Regions from separate parts of the Homo sapiens genome. Here regions 2, 3 and 4 are each linked to region 1. The links are contacts of gene promoters, found by promoter capture Hi-C in blood cells and fetal thymus (Javierre and others, 2016). All regions are on one chromosome and are shown on one strand. The core of a region is centred on a gene start or on the middle of the fragment in contact, and the rest is flanking DNA. Distances in the headings are between cores, read along the strand shown.

Evidence for each region. Contacts are between HindIII fragments. The CHiCAGO score rates a contact against its expected background, and 5 or more counts as called.
Region 2: a contact is called between a fragment that was not itself captured here and the fragment with the promoter of ALOX5 in region 1, in 1 of 17 cell types (M0 macrophages). The highest score is 5.3, in M0 macrophages.
Region 3: a fragment that was not itself captured here is called in contact with the fragment with the promoter of ALOX5 in region 1 in 1 of 17 cell types (erythroblasts); the score reaches 5.1 in erythroblasts.
Region 4: a fragment that was not itself captured here is called in contact with the fragment with the promoter of ALOX5 in region 1 in 1 of 17 cell types (total B cells); the score reaches 5.2 in total B cells.

What each region holds. Positions count from the first base shown.
Region 1 is chr10:45,372,269-45,375,904 of GRCh38, forward strand. ALOX5 (arachidonate 5-lipoxygenase) reads left to right here and starts at 1,948. Exons shown (of 14, transcript NM_000698.5): 1 at 1,948-2,161. The coding sequence starts at 2,012. RefSeq lists enhancers at 1,716-2,326, 2,327-2,935. The HindIII fragment of the contact is 7,754 bases long and covers 1-3,636 here.
Region 2 is chr10:44,964,314-44,967,949 of GRCh38, forward strand. The region is part of intron 1 of RASSF4 (Ras association domain family member 4); the gene reads left to right. LOC105378281 (a long non-coding RNA gene) reads right to left here. Exons shown (of 2, transcript XR_945915.4): 2 at 2,786-3,636. Among named protein-coding and RNA genes, the nearest start is that of RASSF4, 6.3 kb to the left of the region's middle. RefSeq lists enhancers at 1-26, 37-96, 217-316, 1,688-1,957, 1,968-2,262. The HindIII fragment of the contact is 4,203 bases long and covers 1-3,352 here.
Region 3 is chr10:44,987,314-44,990,949 of GRCh38, forward strand. It overlaps RASSF4 (Ras association domain family member 4), which reads left to right. Exons shown (of 11, transcript NM_032023.4): 7 at 1,961-2,062; 8 at 2,357-2,408; 9 at 3,635-3,636. Among named protein-coding and RNA genes, the nearest start is that of DEPP1, 10 kb to the left of the region's middle. The HindIII fragment of the contact is 6,881 bases long and covers 1-3,636 here.
Region 4 is chr10:45,631,649-45,635,284 of GRCh38, forward strand. The region is part of intron 6 of ZFAND4 (zinc finger AN1-type containing 4); the gene reads right to left. Among named protein-coding and RNA genes, the nearest start is that of ZFAND4, 39 kb to the right of the region's middle. The HindIII fragment of the contact is 5,595 bases long and covers 1-3,636 here.

The sequences.
Region 1 (3,636 bases), core at 698-3,197:
AAGAAAAGATTTAAATAAGCTGAAACATATTCTATGGATCAGAAGACTTAATATTGTTAAAGTGACAATATTCCCCAAATTGATCTACAGCTTCAACTCAACCCCTATCAAAATCCTAGCTTGCTTTTTGGCTGAAATTGACAAGCTGATTCTATAATTTATATGGAATCTCAAAGGATCCAGAATAACCAAAACAATATTGAAAAATAAAGAACAGCGTTGGTGGATTAACATTTTCCAATTTCAAAACTTACTATAGCACTGCGGTAATCAAGCAGTGTGGCACTGTATAGCATGTACATTACAGATCAGTGGACTAGAATCAATGTCCAGAAATAAACCGTTATGTTTATAATGAATTACTTTTTAATAAGGTGTCAAGACAACGCAATGGGAAAAGAATAATGAATTCAACAAATGATGCATGGACAACCGGACATGCACATGCAACACAATGAATTTGAATTCTTCTATCGCTCCATGCATAAAAACTAACTCAAAATGGGTCACGGATGTAAATGAAAAGCTAAAACTATAATAATCCTAGAGGAAAACCTAGGAGTAAATCTTTAAGATGTTATTGTAGGCAGTGGTTTCTCAGATAGGACCCCAAAATCACAAGCGACAAAAGAAATTGGACTTAAAGTTAAATACTTTTGTGCTTCAAACATCATCAAGAAAGTGAAAACACAACCCGCAGAAGCAATAAAAATGTCTGTAAGTCATGTATCCGATTAGAGACTTCTATCCAGGATATATAAATAATGCAATTCAATGATAAAAAAGATAAATAGCCCAGTTTTCCAAAGAGTCAAGCATCTGAATATACATCTCTCCAAAAATATACAGATATCCAACAAGCATGTGAAAAGATGTTCAAAGCCATTTGCCAGGTGCACAAACCCAAGACAGTATGAGGAGATGCTACAGGGACTCTGCTGCTTCACAGACATGAAGCGTTGGTGAGAATGTAGGCAGCCGCCTTTGGGGACTTCACATCCCCGCCGCCCCACGCACGGTGAGCTAGTGTTTAAACTTAGCCGAGATCAATACACGCGACTGTGTGCCCGTCAGACCCTGCGCTGCCGGCGGGGCTGGGAGAGGCGGGCGCCAGGAGTGGGCGGGAACCTGGGGGTCAGGCCCCAGCCGCGGGAAGCCGCCCAGGAGCGCGCGAAACCTTCTCCACACCCTTCCAGGCATTTGCCCGCCGCGATTCAGAGAGCCGACCCGTGACCCCTGGCCTCCCCTAGACAGCCCCGCATGTCCAGATGTGCCGTCCCGCCTGCCTCCCGCGACCACTGGCCATCTCTGGGCCTGGGCGCGGTCTCGGCGCCCGCCTGCCCCCGCCAGGAGCCGCAGGTCCAGCCAGTGAAGAAGCCCGCGCTGAAGGAGCCTCTGTGCTCCAGAATCCATCCTCAGTATCAGCGCTGGGGTGGCCTCCTCCAGGAAGCCCTTCTGATTCTCTCATGGGTCGCTCTTCCTCTGCAGACTCCCGGAGCACCCCTGCTCCAAGTACCGCAAGTGGCACTGAGAACTTGGGGAGAGCAGAGGCTGTGCCTAGATTTGTAGGGAGTCCCCGCAGCTCCACCCCAGGGCCTACAGGAGCCTGGCCTTGGGCGAAGCCGAGGCAGGCAGGCAGGGCAAAGGGTGGAAGCAATTCAGGAGAGAACGAGTGAACGAATGGATGAGGGGTGGCAGCCGAGGTTGCCCCAGTCCCCTGGCTGCAGGAACAGACACCTCGCTGAGGAGAGACCCAGGAGCGAGGCCCCTGCCCCGCCCGAGGCGAGGTCCCGCCCAGTCGGCGCCGCGTGAAGAGTGGGAGAGAAGTACTGCGGGGGCGGGGGCGGGGGCGGGGGCGGGGGCGGGGGCAGCCGGGAGCCTGGAGCCAGACCGGGGCGGGGCCGGGACCGGGGCCAGGGACCAGTGGTGGGAGGAGGCTGCGGCGCTAGATGCGGACACCTGGACCGCCGCGCCGAGGCTCCCGGCGCTCGCTGCTCCCGCGGCCCGCGCCATGCCCTCCTACACGGTCACCGTGGCCACTGGCAGCCAGTGGTTCGCCGGCACTGACGACTACATCTACCTCAGCCTCGTGGGCTCGGCGGGCTGCAGCGAGAAGCACCTGCTGGACAAGCCCTTCTACAACGACTTCGAGCGTGGCGCGGTGAGCGCGGGCGGGGCACGGGTGGAGCGCGGGCTGAGGTGCGTCCGGGACCCGGTTTGGACGGCAGAGGCCTGGGCGGGGGCGCCGAGGGCCCGTCGGGGCGGCCCGGACAGGACTGGGGGTGTCCAGGACCCTGTCAGGGAGGGCAGAACTGCGGTGGGGCGTGCCCTGGGCTCCCAGTGGCCGGTGGGTACCCTGGTGGGCAAGCGTCCAGGACCCCTCGCGGCGGCCGCGACCCCTGTCGGAAACGGAGACTTCCCGCGTGCCGCCTGCAAGGCGTCTTCCCTGGGAGGAGAAGGCCCAAGGTTTCCCCTCCACTTCAAGATCTGGGCTCCGAGGCTCCGGAGCCCCCTTCACTGGGCCGCGTTTCTTGTGCCACCTCTTCCTTAGGCTCCTTCTGCAGGTCGCACAGGGAGGGAGAGGCAGATGAGTCATGCTCACAGAACTCTGAGGGCACCTCGGAGCAGCCAGCTGTGAGCCGTGGGGAAGGGTGCACGTCAGCGGGTCCAGAGGCCTGAGTTCTGTCCAGACATGACCACCAGCTCACTCTACCGTCTGTCTGGGCCTCAGTTTCCCCAGCTGAAAATGGAGGGTTGGCTTCAGTCTGGTCCATGAGTCATGGGTGAGCCCAGGCCCATCTGGTGGCTCAGACGGCACCTGGGCAGCTTACATTCTCAGGACAGTCCCCAGAGGAAATTAAAGGGAAGGAACAGAACCCAGGCCAGGAGAGGCTTTTCCTAAATGGAGGGGCTGCACTCCCTCCCAGCAGAATGTACACCAGGGAACACTTCCACGCTAGGTGTGAGGACGCGAGGGAGCCCTCAGCATTTGGAAGCTAGTTCCTAATGCTGATCTGGACCTGAATTCCAGCCCCACGACTCTTTTCCATGAGCATGGGCAGGTCGCAGTTCTCACTGAGCCTTTAATGAAGTGCCTAATCCAGTACCTGGCACAGAGGAAGCGCTCCGTAAATGACTGGTAATAGTCCCAGACATACTGCAGGTGCGCAGGGAATATCAGTTCCCTTCCACCCCACCCCAGCTCCTAACTGGACCAAAAAGATTTAGACTTTACCAAGCTGCCTTCTCACCATTTAGTTTATTATTTGATCAAACCTTGTGAAATTGCTCATAATGGACAAATACAACCGGCAAGTTCATGTTTCAACTGATTACTCTTGGATAAAATTTGTGTTTTAGGTGTGCAGAGCCTAAAGTAAGTAAAAACTACTCTTTTTCTGGATTCCAAGCTCTCCATGGGCTCGATTCCTATCCAGGAGCCCATACCCTCGCTGTAGCACGACATGGCCCTCAGCCAAGTTCACTAGCATCCTGGCTTGAGCTCCCTTCAAGAAGAGTTAGGTGTTGAGTACAAGAGCAACCTTCAGTTGCTTAGTTGCCCCAGTCGGGGAACTGACCCTGAGGACTGCGGTGCCCTGGAGTTAATGTGTCGTCCATTTAGGGTGATGGCACCCT
Region 2 (3,636 bases), core at 1-2,500, 410 kb before region 1:
GACAGAGTGTCCTCCAGCCTGGGAAACAGGCGTGGAGGCCTGAGCTATGTCCTGGGACCTGGGGGAGGGGAACGGGCCCAGACAAAGAAAGCTGTACTTTCCCAGCAGAATGGCACGGCTTGGAGGAGGGGAGAGCCTGCTGGCCGACTTGGCCTGTCCAGCTGCATCTGTCACTCTGTGGTTTTTTGAGCCTGAGCCTGGGTGGCAGGCCAGCCCCAGCCCATCCTCTCCTGACTCCTGCTGCCACCCATGCAGCCTCGCTTTAATCCATTTGTGTATTGGGCTTCTACCTAGGATCTAATTTCAAGATAAGGTTGTGCTGTTTATAAAAGACTGAAAAATACTCCAGCAGAGATTCTCAAAGGCCCCACCCAGTGCACTTGGAGATTCAATGCAAAAGGCTGTTCCAGGAAAATGCTCCAAATAGAGAGATGGCTCCCTTTCCTCTCCTGTTGGGTGTGCGTGTTCCCCCTTGCAGTTTGCTGCTGCCACAGCTGTCTTTCAGACACCCCTTAGGTACTCATGCAGTTTCCTGTAGATGTGATGTCAAAACGATTAAATTCATCAAAATGAATGAAAGTCTGGTAAAGGGGATAGGGCGCAAGCACAGTGTTGAGATCTGCAGTGGAATTCTGTGAGTGATCCTGGAGCTCAGGAAAAACAGGTCTTCTTGCGGTGTTGGCTCTGAGAACCAGAGAGACCAAGTGACTTTTGTGGGAGCCATAGGCTCTTGGCCCCTTAAAGTTTCACTAAAAATCACAGACATGAGGCAGATTGATTAATAGGAGAAAAGTCATACACATGTACTTAAGGTGCATGCATGGGAGCCTTCAGAATGATGGTCCAGCTTCCCAGTGAGTAACAGAGACTTATATACCATTTTGAGGTTACAGAAAGAATGGGGCTTAGATTCTGGTGAAACAGGCTATGGAAGGAGGAGAGGCTTGGCTAGTGAAAGTGACCTTGTTATGTAGATGAAGCCTCCCTCAAAGAGACTTTTAAAGGTGTGGATTCTCAGTCTCTCCTGGATGTGGGGAAAGATCTGGAAAGGGGAGGGGGCCTGGCTGCATTAATGGAGATTCTCTACAGATGCAAATTTTCCCACTGAAGACACTCTGCTAGCCACTTCTTTCAGGATGGGCAAGTGGCAGCCATTTAAGAATACGTCAAAGAAATATATGTTGGGGATAAAATATTTTCATCTCCTTCCCTTGCTTAGGGCCATGAAGCTAATGAGTGCTGGAGGACACAGAAATGTGTGCCTCTCTCAAAGGAGAGACTCTCTTTGTGTGGAGCCAAGGTTCCCACCCTGTAAGGCTCAGGACCCAGCCCAGCAAGCTGGAAAAACCTCCTTTTGCTGCAGTGGGCCCTGAGCCACCTCCCTTAGCTTTGCTCGCTGACCCCCCTGCCCTCCCCTGGGATGGTGTGCCCCGTTCTCTGCCCCAGCTGTTTACCCTACAAGCCCACCTTGCCCTTTATCCCTTCACTTTGCCATCTGCAGCCTAGGACTCTCCTTTACTTTCCTCCTGGTCTGTCTCCTCTGAGCAGGTGCCCCCAGCTGGTGCCATTCAGTCATGGCCGGAGACACTCAACACGTTGGTTGTGTCCTATAAATAAGCAGGCGTGCAGGGGAAAAGCACTCCTGAAGGCCAGTGAGGGAGAACCATGCTTTTCAAGTAGTATTACCCAGAGCTCTAGAAGATGAGGCTCTCTGCCACCACCACCTCACTGTCAACCACGGCAATCCCCTTTAATCTGTTTTGCATACATTTTCTATTTGAACAAAGAGTTCCACAGTTAAGAAAATTTCAAACCCATTGGAGGTCAATATTCTTGTTGTACAGATGGGAAAATTAAGGCCCAGAGAGGAGAAGGCATGCAACGAAGCACCCCAGAGCTCTTTAGGAAGCATTTTCTATGAATAAGTAACCACTGCCTGACTTATGGGAAATTCCACTTCTAAGTGTTCCTACTACATATGGCAAAATGAACTTCTTCCCCACACACTATAGGAGACCGGAAGTAAATGTAAATCATGCCGTGTCGTGAATCAGAAGTCACAAACTGGAGCCTCACTGTCCAGTGGACTAGGAGAGGTCCCCAAACACTGGTGGGACTTCGACCCCAGCTGATGTCCAGGCTCTTGACTCCTTGAATTCCTTCCCATATGAGTCAGAAAATAGTGAAAGTACACACTCAAGAAGGGAGAGTGTGCAAGGGGGTTGGGAGCTGCTTCCTTTATGGGTTTCTTTAACCAAGGGGTGCAATATCCAAGAAGATTCCTGGAAAAAGGTGGAACTTTCTTGAAACTGTGGTGCCACCCATTTTTACATGAAATATGGGTGTTCTGGAACTGTCATGGTGCCTGTGGGTGTGTAATTTAGCATCTCAGAGAGTTGCCTGGTTAATGAGCGTATAGTGAGGTCCTAGAAGAAACCTAGGTCGAATCCAGCACCACGTTGGTTTCAGTTGGTCTTAGCCAGCTTGGCCCACACTCTGATTTTTTTAGAGTCTTATGACCCCTAGCTTCTTATGACCCTTATTTTAACAGTTTCCTTTTGCTGGTCATGTGAAATGGCTGCCTAGAATTTTCTATTCTCCTGTGACCATCTGTATTATTCCTGTCTCACCACTAGGTGTATCTGTCTTGCAAAGATGTTTAGTTTATTTATAAACATATTTAAATACAAAATATTACATTAAATATTTGTTGTTTTGATTGGATTATGTATTGCATGAGACTTGGTCTGGGTTATGCTGCAGTAACAAATCCCTGATACACCAGTGGCTTGTCACGGCAGAGGTTTATTTCTCCCTCTCAGTCCATATCCAGTGTGGGTTGGCAGACAGTTCTGGTCCACAGTCACTCAGGGACCCAGGCTGACCATCGAGTAGCTGCACATGGCTTGAAACACATGGCTTTCTGGGTCACCACGGTGGAGACAGGAGAACTGGAGGGTTGTGCACTGGCTCTTAAAGCTGCTGGCCTGGAAGGGACCCACAACACTTTTGTTCGCAGCTCAGTGGTCAGAATGAGGCCCACAGCCCCAGCTAGCTGCAGAGGGCCGGGGTGGTGAGCGACCACACGGGCATTCCAGGGACAGTGCATGCCTCTGCCAGCCAGCCACCTTTCAGTAGTGAAATATAGCCCAGAAAAATCCAGATTCCTGGCTTCTTATGAAACGCCAAAAGAGTTGCCCCGTCGAAGAAGGAATGTGCCCCCCATTCCCCATGGACCCCGTGACGAATGTCCCTCAGCGGAGTCACCTCCGTGGCCATTGGAGACTTTTATATTATTTATTCCTGCTGTATGTGCACAGCTTTGGAAGAGTAGACTTGGAGGGAGTCTAGAAGCTTCTTGTATTTATTCAGCAATTTAACAACCATGTATGGACTTCCTGCGATGTGCCAGGCTTATGCTTGGGGCTGGAAACTAGTGGTAAAGCACCCCCCGCCCTCACCCCCACCATGTTCCCGTTCTCTTGGGAGGGAAGTCTAAACAAGAGCTGGGTTCTGCAGGGCCCAGTGGGGAAATGGGAAGAGACGATGGGGCAGAGAGGGGCTGCCCCAACATGGACTGGGGCTTTTCTGGCAAGGGTTTCCAGGAGGAGCTAACATCAGAAGACAGGAGTAGTT
Region 3 (3,636 bases), core at 320-2,819, 390 kb before region 1:
GTCTTGAACTCCTGACCTCGTGATCCGCCCGCCTTTGCCTACCAAAGTGCTGGGATTACAGGCGTAAGCCACTGCACCTGGCCCTCTCTTCCATATTTCTTTGGACAAGAAAGCCTAATCCTAATCCTGGCTTTCTGTATAACTCAGTCATTCTGCACCTCAACTAGAATCGAGCTGGGGGAAGCAGGTCGAGGTTGAGTCTGACTCTGGCACAGCGTGCTTCATTTTATTGTGCTTCTTGTTACTGTACCTTGCAGATTTTTGCAAATGGAAGGTTGCTGTTCAGCAACCTTCCATTTGCAAAAATGTGCACTTTTTTTTTTTTTTTTGCTGCACCTGCGGTTTCTGCAAATTGAAGGTGTGTGGCAACCTTGTGTTGAACAAGTCTATCGGTGCCGTTTTCCAACACTATGTGCTCACTTTGTGTCTCTGTGTCAGATTTTTTAGCAATAAAGTAGTTTTAATTAAGGCATGCATATTTTTTAGATGTAGTACTGTCTCACCCTTAAGAAACTACAGTATAGTATAAACATATCTTGTATATGCCCTGGGAAACCAAAACATTTGTGTGACTCACTTTATTGAGATATTCGCTTCATTGTGATGGTCTGGACCTGAACTCACAATGGCTCCCAGGTGTGCCTGGACTTATCAGAGCGGGGATACTGAATAGGTCCTTGAGCTCTCTGAGCCTTAGCTACCTCCTTGGGAAAACAGAGCTAGGATCTCAGAGGAGGAATATGCGAATCTAAACTTGAGTTTGAAAAGCAAGGAGAGGTTCACCTGCAGAGGAGTCACATTCGCTGGGAGGCACCAGCACCAGGGGGGTAACATGTAGGTTTTCAGGAATCATGGAATCCTTTGAGTCAGGGCTCTGTCTTTTCTAGGTGGGTAACTCTGAACAAGCTGGTTAACCTCCTAAAGCCTCTGATTCCTTTCTAAGAAAAGGGGACTAGTTATAGCTGCCTCAAAGGGTTGTTATGAATATTAAATCAATGATTGTATGTAAAATCTTAGCGGGTTCAATACACAGCTAGGGTTTATTGAGGACGGACCTATTATGTGTCAGGCAGAGTCCTGGTTGATTTCATATATGGTGTCTCTTAGGCAAAGGCAAGATACCTGCAAAAATATAATGTGTCCCCCCACCCCCCAGCCAAATTGTGAAGAAGCTCTGTGACTGGAGCACATGGTGCTTGTTAGGCAACCATAGTGTCATACGTGCGAGACAATGAGAAGAACTACAGATGTTATTGCACAGTCCCCAGGAAGCCTTCAGATACTTTTAGACCCGCGCTTTCAAACAGTGCTTCTCACATTGAACTGCACAGATCGCTTCGCCTTGTGTTCTACAGACGCAGACTCTGATTCAGATGGTATGGAGCAGGGTAGGGAAGGGAGCCGAGACTGTATGGATGCAGCTGGGCTAGACGTCACTTGGAGGTGCAAGGGTTTTAGAAGTCCGTTCCTGTAGGCAGCGGTGCAGACTACGGATTAGAGGGACTGAGACCAGAAGGGAACAAGCTGGGAAGCTGATATGGTGTGATCAGTGCCTCTACTAGGCACTGCTGGGAGAATGAAGAGGAGGAGACAGATTGGGTAACTTTCAGCCTTAGAATCAACAGACAACTGGTGACTTAATCAATAGAAAGAGTGATGGAGAGACTGATTCCCCCACCCTTGTGAATGACTTCCATGGCCCTGGTTCCTCGGGTCCAGAGAGCTGGCCCTTCTGGGTGTGTAGACATCTTCCTTAGGCCTCTGGAAGGAGTGCACTACTACAGCTTCCCGGAGTGTCTCCCAGGTCTGGGAACAGCTTATGTGTGCATCAGCGTGAATGGACAGGTGCAGGTGTTCCCAGATCTCAGCGTCACCTGCTGCCTTGGTCTGTTCACCGTTGTGATGTCAGTCCCTTGTCCCCTCTGGGCCTGACCTGAACTTCTCTCCCTTCCTGGTACAGACCTCCGTGTTTACTCCAGCCTATGGATCCGTGACCAATGTGAGGGTCAACAGCACCATGACAACCCTGCAGGTGCTCACCCTGCTGCTGAACAAATTTAGGGTAAGCCTGGTCAGGAGCAGCCTTGCCCCAGGATGCCAGTGGTCTGCTATTCTGTTGGGGGTGGGGTTCTGGGGAAAGCTGCCCGTGGCAGAAGCTGCCTGGGCAGAAGGTCTAGCAAGGGTCCCTCTGCTGAGCTTTGGTTTCTCGGATTTCAAGCAAGAGGAGGTTGGGAGAGGACAGGTTCCTTGCAACTTGCGTGTGTGTTACTGGGGGTGTAGTTACTGTCAGGGGACCCTCTCAGTTCTCTCCCATCTCCAAGCACCGTGATCTGACTTCCTGTGACTGCCTGTGCAGGTGGAAGATGGCCCCAGTGAGTTCGCACTCTACATCGTTCACGAGTCTGGGGGTAAGTACCTGCCCCACTTCTGGATCGTAAAAGCAAAAGGTCTCTACCTGTTCAGCAAGCCCCCTCCCCACCAACCACTGACTGTACTCCCTTCCAGATGGGCTCCGTGCTGGCTTGCCTAGTGGGCTAGGGCACACTGTGCCTCCCAGCATGAACATTTCTCCCCCACCCAAACCCAGGCACACTATGGAAGCCTTGAGGAAAAGAAAACATACTTTTGGCTTCGAATTTAAAGCACATTAAAATGTCCTTGGATTTTCTAGGTCGCTCAGTACATTAAGTTTAATTCTTTCAGGATTCTGAAGGAGAATCCCACCAAGCTATAGGAAGCCTCCCTCTCCGCCTCTTCCAGAGAAATGGATGGGTGGGTACCTAGCTCCTTGGCGCCGAGTCAGGAAGGGTGGGGTGCGTGTCGCAGTGCATCAGGCCCTGGCCCTCCCGTCTCAGCTTTCCTTTCTCCCACCCCTCAGATCTTGTTTCTCTTCAAGCTGCACCTTTGCTGAATGACACTGTAGGGGAGGAAAATTATCTTCTCTTTCTACCCATTTAGGTTCACTGGCTGGGGCCCTGTATTTAGATTAACAAAAGACAGATTAAGGAGAAGAACAAACAGAAGTTTGTTAACACTTGCATCATGCATGCCCTTTGGAATATCCAGGGATGAATGGTCAGAATTTGGGCTTAAATAGCATATTCACAAAAGAGCAGTAAGTTTTTAGAGAAGTGACAAGACAGAGGAGAAGGGCCTGAGTTTCTGGGGAGGCGAAGGGTGGGAAGGTCACCGCACGGGGAGCTGCGGGAAGGGAAGGGCTTCAGCGGGACGTGCTGTGCAGGTTCCTCTGGTGCCCTCTCCAGGCTGAGGAGGGGCTCGGGTTGTCTCTGGTGATTAACTCCATCATTGCCTAGAGAGGGACGGGGGCACACCTTGACAAATTTATGTCCTGCTTTTTGGCAAATAGGGGAGGGCAAAGAGCCTCACTTGTATCTTCTTCTTCTCAATTGCCAGCCGCTCCACTTAATCCTTATGCCAAAGTGGCAGATCTGGGGGCCCTGTTCTGCCTCCCTTCTGCATGAGCAGGAATCTCTCAGGGCAGCGCTGTTAGCGAGGTCTGTGTTCTTAGGGTTCCCTGCGCCCCTAGACGCACATTTTCTATCAGTTCCTAATCTGGAACAGACAGAGGTGATCCTAATCTCCCGTGATTTTTGTAAACCACCTTCTTTTTCAGAG
Region 4 (3,636 bases), core at 559-3,058, 260 kb after region 1:
AGGGAAAAGATGTGAACCAAACATTTTATATCCAGGCAAGCCATCATGTAAGGATTAAGGCTAATGTTTCTAGCATTAAAAAAAGATGAATATTTAAGGTTATGGATATCCCAATTACACTGATCTGATGTTTACAAATTATATTCATGTATTAAATTATCACATGTACCCTGAAAATATATCTATTACGTATCAATGAAAATAGGAAAATACAAAAATAGAAGAAAAACCTACAATTAATATCATACATAATGGTAAAAACAAATAAAAATGTTAAGTCTAAAGAAAAGGGTTTGAACATCGAAAAATTCAAGAATTACTGTACCTACAAGCCTTTCTTGAGGACTTCAGATGAGCTTCTTCTAACCAAAATGTATGGGGAAACCTACAGCAAAAAGACTGATCATAAGAATGGAATACAATTGGCCGGGCATGGTGGCTCATGCCTGTAATCCCAGCACTTTGGGAGGCCAAGGTGGGTGGATCACAAGGTCAGGAGTTCGAGACCAGCCTGGCCAACATGGTGAAACCCCGTCTCTAGTAAAGATACAAAAAAAAAATTAGCCGGGTGTGGTGGCACACGCCTGTAATCCTAGCTACTCAGAAGACTGAGGCAGGAGAATTGCTTGAACCCAGGAGGCACAGGTTGCAGTGAGCCAAGATCGTGCCATTGCACTCCAGCCTGGGTGACAGGGCAAGACTCCATCTCAAAATAAATAAGTGAATAAATAAAAAGGATGGAATAAAATTAAAACTAAAATAAGAGTGAGTAGAAAGAAAAATGATTTGTAAAGGCTATGTTTTCTTTAAAAAAGTAGAAAAAAATTTTTAATGAGAGGATGAAGAGAGAAGAGAAAAAAATAAGTTCACTGATTTTCACTTAGTAATTAGGAGTCAAAGGATATTTAAAGCTGGCAAATAAAAGAGGAGAAGGTTAAATAAGGAAAAGGCAGATCAAGAACATGATAAATAGTATTAATGTAAAGTGAATCAATAAAACAAAATGCAAAAGCCTTCTGAAATACCAAAAAATACACCCTTACACATTCATATATACAGATACACACAAAAGAAAGCATAGAGAAGGAAACTGTAAGTATAACAAAATAAGACATTTAAGACCAAATATGAAGTCATATCAATAAATATAAACGTGATTAAGTTACCTGTTTTAAAATTTCAAGCTGGCTCACAAAGCAAAAACCAACTCTATAGTGTATATAAAGGAAATATGTAAAACAAAGTAACTTAAAAGTTAATAAATAGAGACATGGGAAAAGGTATACCAAGCAAATGAAACCAAGAAGATACCAGTAGGTATGGGCCTGATATCAGGCAAGGAAAATTCAAGGGGAAAGTCAGTGAATGTGATAGAGATGAAACATTTCACTACTTTTGTAACTAGCAACACAGTGAAAATATGTTATTAATATTTATGTACCAAATTACACAACTACCACTTTCTTACAGCAAAAAGTATGAGAAATGAAAAGAGAAATACACAGAAACCTATGAATAATAGACCTTCATCTATTACCATTCTCATTCTAAGACAGATCAAGTTGACAAAAAAAAAAAAAAACTTTAATAAGGTCTATCTTATAAATATCTAGCAAACTTTTACCTTTTTGATAGAGAATAAACTGTCTTCTGAGGTATATATTCATGAAAAGTGCTATTAGATCCCAAAGAATAAAATGCTATAAAGTAGAAATACAAACAATATTCTCTGAGTTCCATGCAATAAAACTAGAAATTAAAAACAATGAAAAATCAAGCCCGGCATGGTGCTGCACACATAGTCCCAGCTACGTGGGAGGCTGAAATGAGAAGATCCCTTGGTCCCAGGAGTTCAGTAACATAGTGAGACTCCCACCTCTAAAAACAAGAAAAGAAAAGAAAAAGAAAAACCAAAAAGCCTCTGCCACCAGAACATTTTCAAAATATATTAAAATACTCTTGGACTAATGAGGAAATACCAACTAAAATTGCAAATTTTCTTTAAAAAAAAAAACGAAAAAGAAACTACTACAAATTAACATTATGTGCCTTCTGATGTGTTGCACTGAGAAGAATAAATCATCTGTGTAGTATTCCTACCAAAAATGTTCAAATTCCATCTAATCATAATGAAACAGCCAAATCTCCAAATTGAAGAATATTTTACAAAACAACTGATCTATATTCTTCAAAAATATTTTACATGCATGTCCAAATAAGGCTTAGAAACAGTTTTGTATAAAAGGAGACTATGAAAACATTACAACGAAATGCAATGCATCATTCTTGATTGGATCCCAGATTAAAAACAATATAAAATGCTATTAAGCACATTATTAAGACCTGGGAAATATGAATATAGATGACATAATGTGTATCAATCATAAATGAGTATGGTAACTGTATCATAATCATGTAAAAGGTGGCCCTTATTCTTAGGAGATACATAATAAATAAAGTACTTAGGGGAAGTGTCATGATATCTAACTTGCACATAGATCAGCTAAAGAAAAATCCAAACAGAAAGCAAATGTGGGAAAATATTAATTGATGAATCTAGTCTTATAACATTTCTAAATAATTAAACATTTCTCAGCCAGGCGCGGTGGCTCATGCCTGTAATCCCAGCACCTTGGGAGGCCGAGGCAGGCAGATCACGGGGTCAAGAGATCAAGACCATTCTGGCCAACATGGTGAAACCCCATCTCTATTAAAAATACAAAAATTAGTTGGGCATGGTGGCTCATGCCTGTAGTCCTAGCTACTGCTACTCGGGAAGCTGAGGGAGGAGAATCGCTTGAACCCAGGAGGTGGAGGTTGCAGTGAGCCGAGACCACACCACTGCACTCCAGCCTGGGCAACAGCAAGACTCCATCTCAAAAAAAAAAAAAAAGAATTAAACATTTCTCAAAATTAAAAAGGTAAAATAAGTTTTCAGACAAATGCTGAGAGAATTATCATCAGGAACCCTAAATGAAAAGAAGTACTAGTACTAGAAGTCCTAGCTGGAGAAATCAGACAAGAGAAAGAAATAAAGGGCATACAAATTTGAAAGAAGGAAGTCAAATTATCCTTGATTGCAGATAATATGATCTTGTATTTGGAAAAACAGAAAGACTGCACCAAAAAACGATTAGAACTGATAAACACATTCAGTAAAGTTGCGGGATACAAAATCAACATACAAAACCCAGTAGCATTTCTATATACCAACAATAATCTAAAAAAATCAAGAAAGTAATCTCATTTACAATAGCTACAAATAAAGTAAAATAAAATACCTAGGAATAAACTTATCTAAAAAAGTGAAAGATCTCTATAATGAAAGCTATAAAACATTGGACGACACAAAAATATGAAAAAATATTCCATGTTCATGAGTTGGAAGAATTAATATTGTTAAAATGTCCATACTGCCCAACGCAATCTACAAATTCAACATAATCTCTATCAAAATACCAATGACATTTTTCACAGAAACAGAAAAAATAATCCTAAAATTTACATGGAACCACAAAAGACACAGAATAGTCAAAGCCATCTAAGCAAAAAAAAAAAAAAAAAACAAAAAAAAAACAAACAAAAAAAAACTGGAAGAATCACAATTATGTGACTTTAAATTATACTACAGAGCTA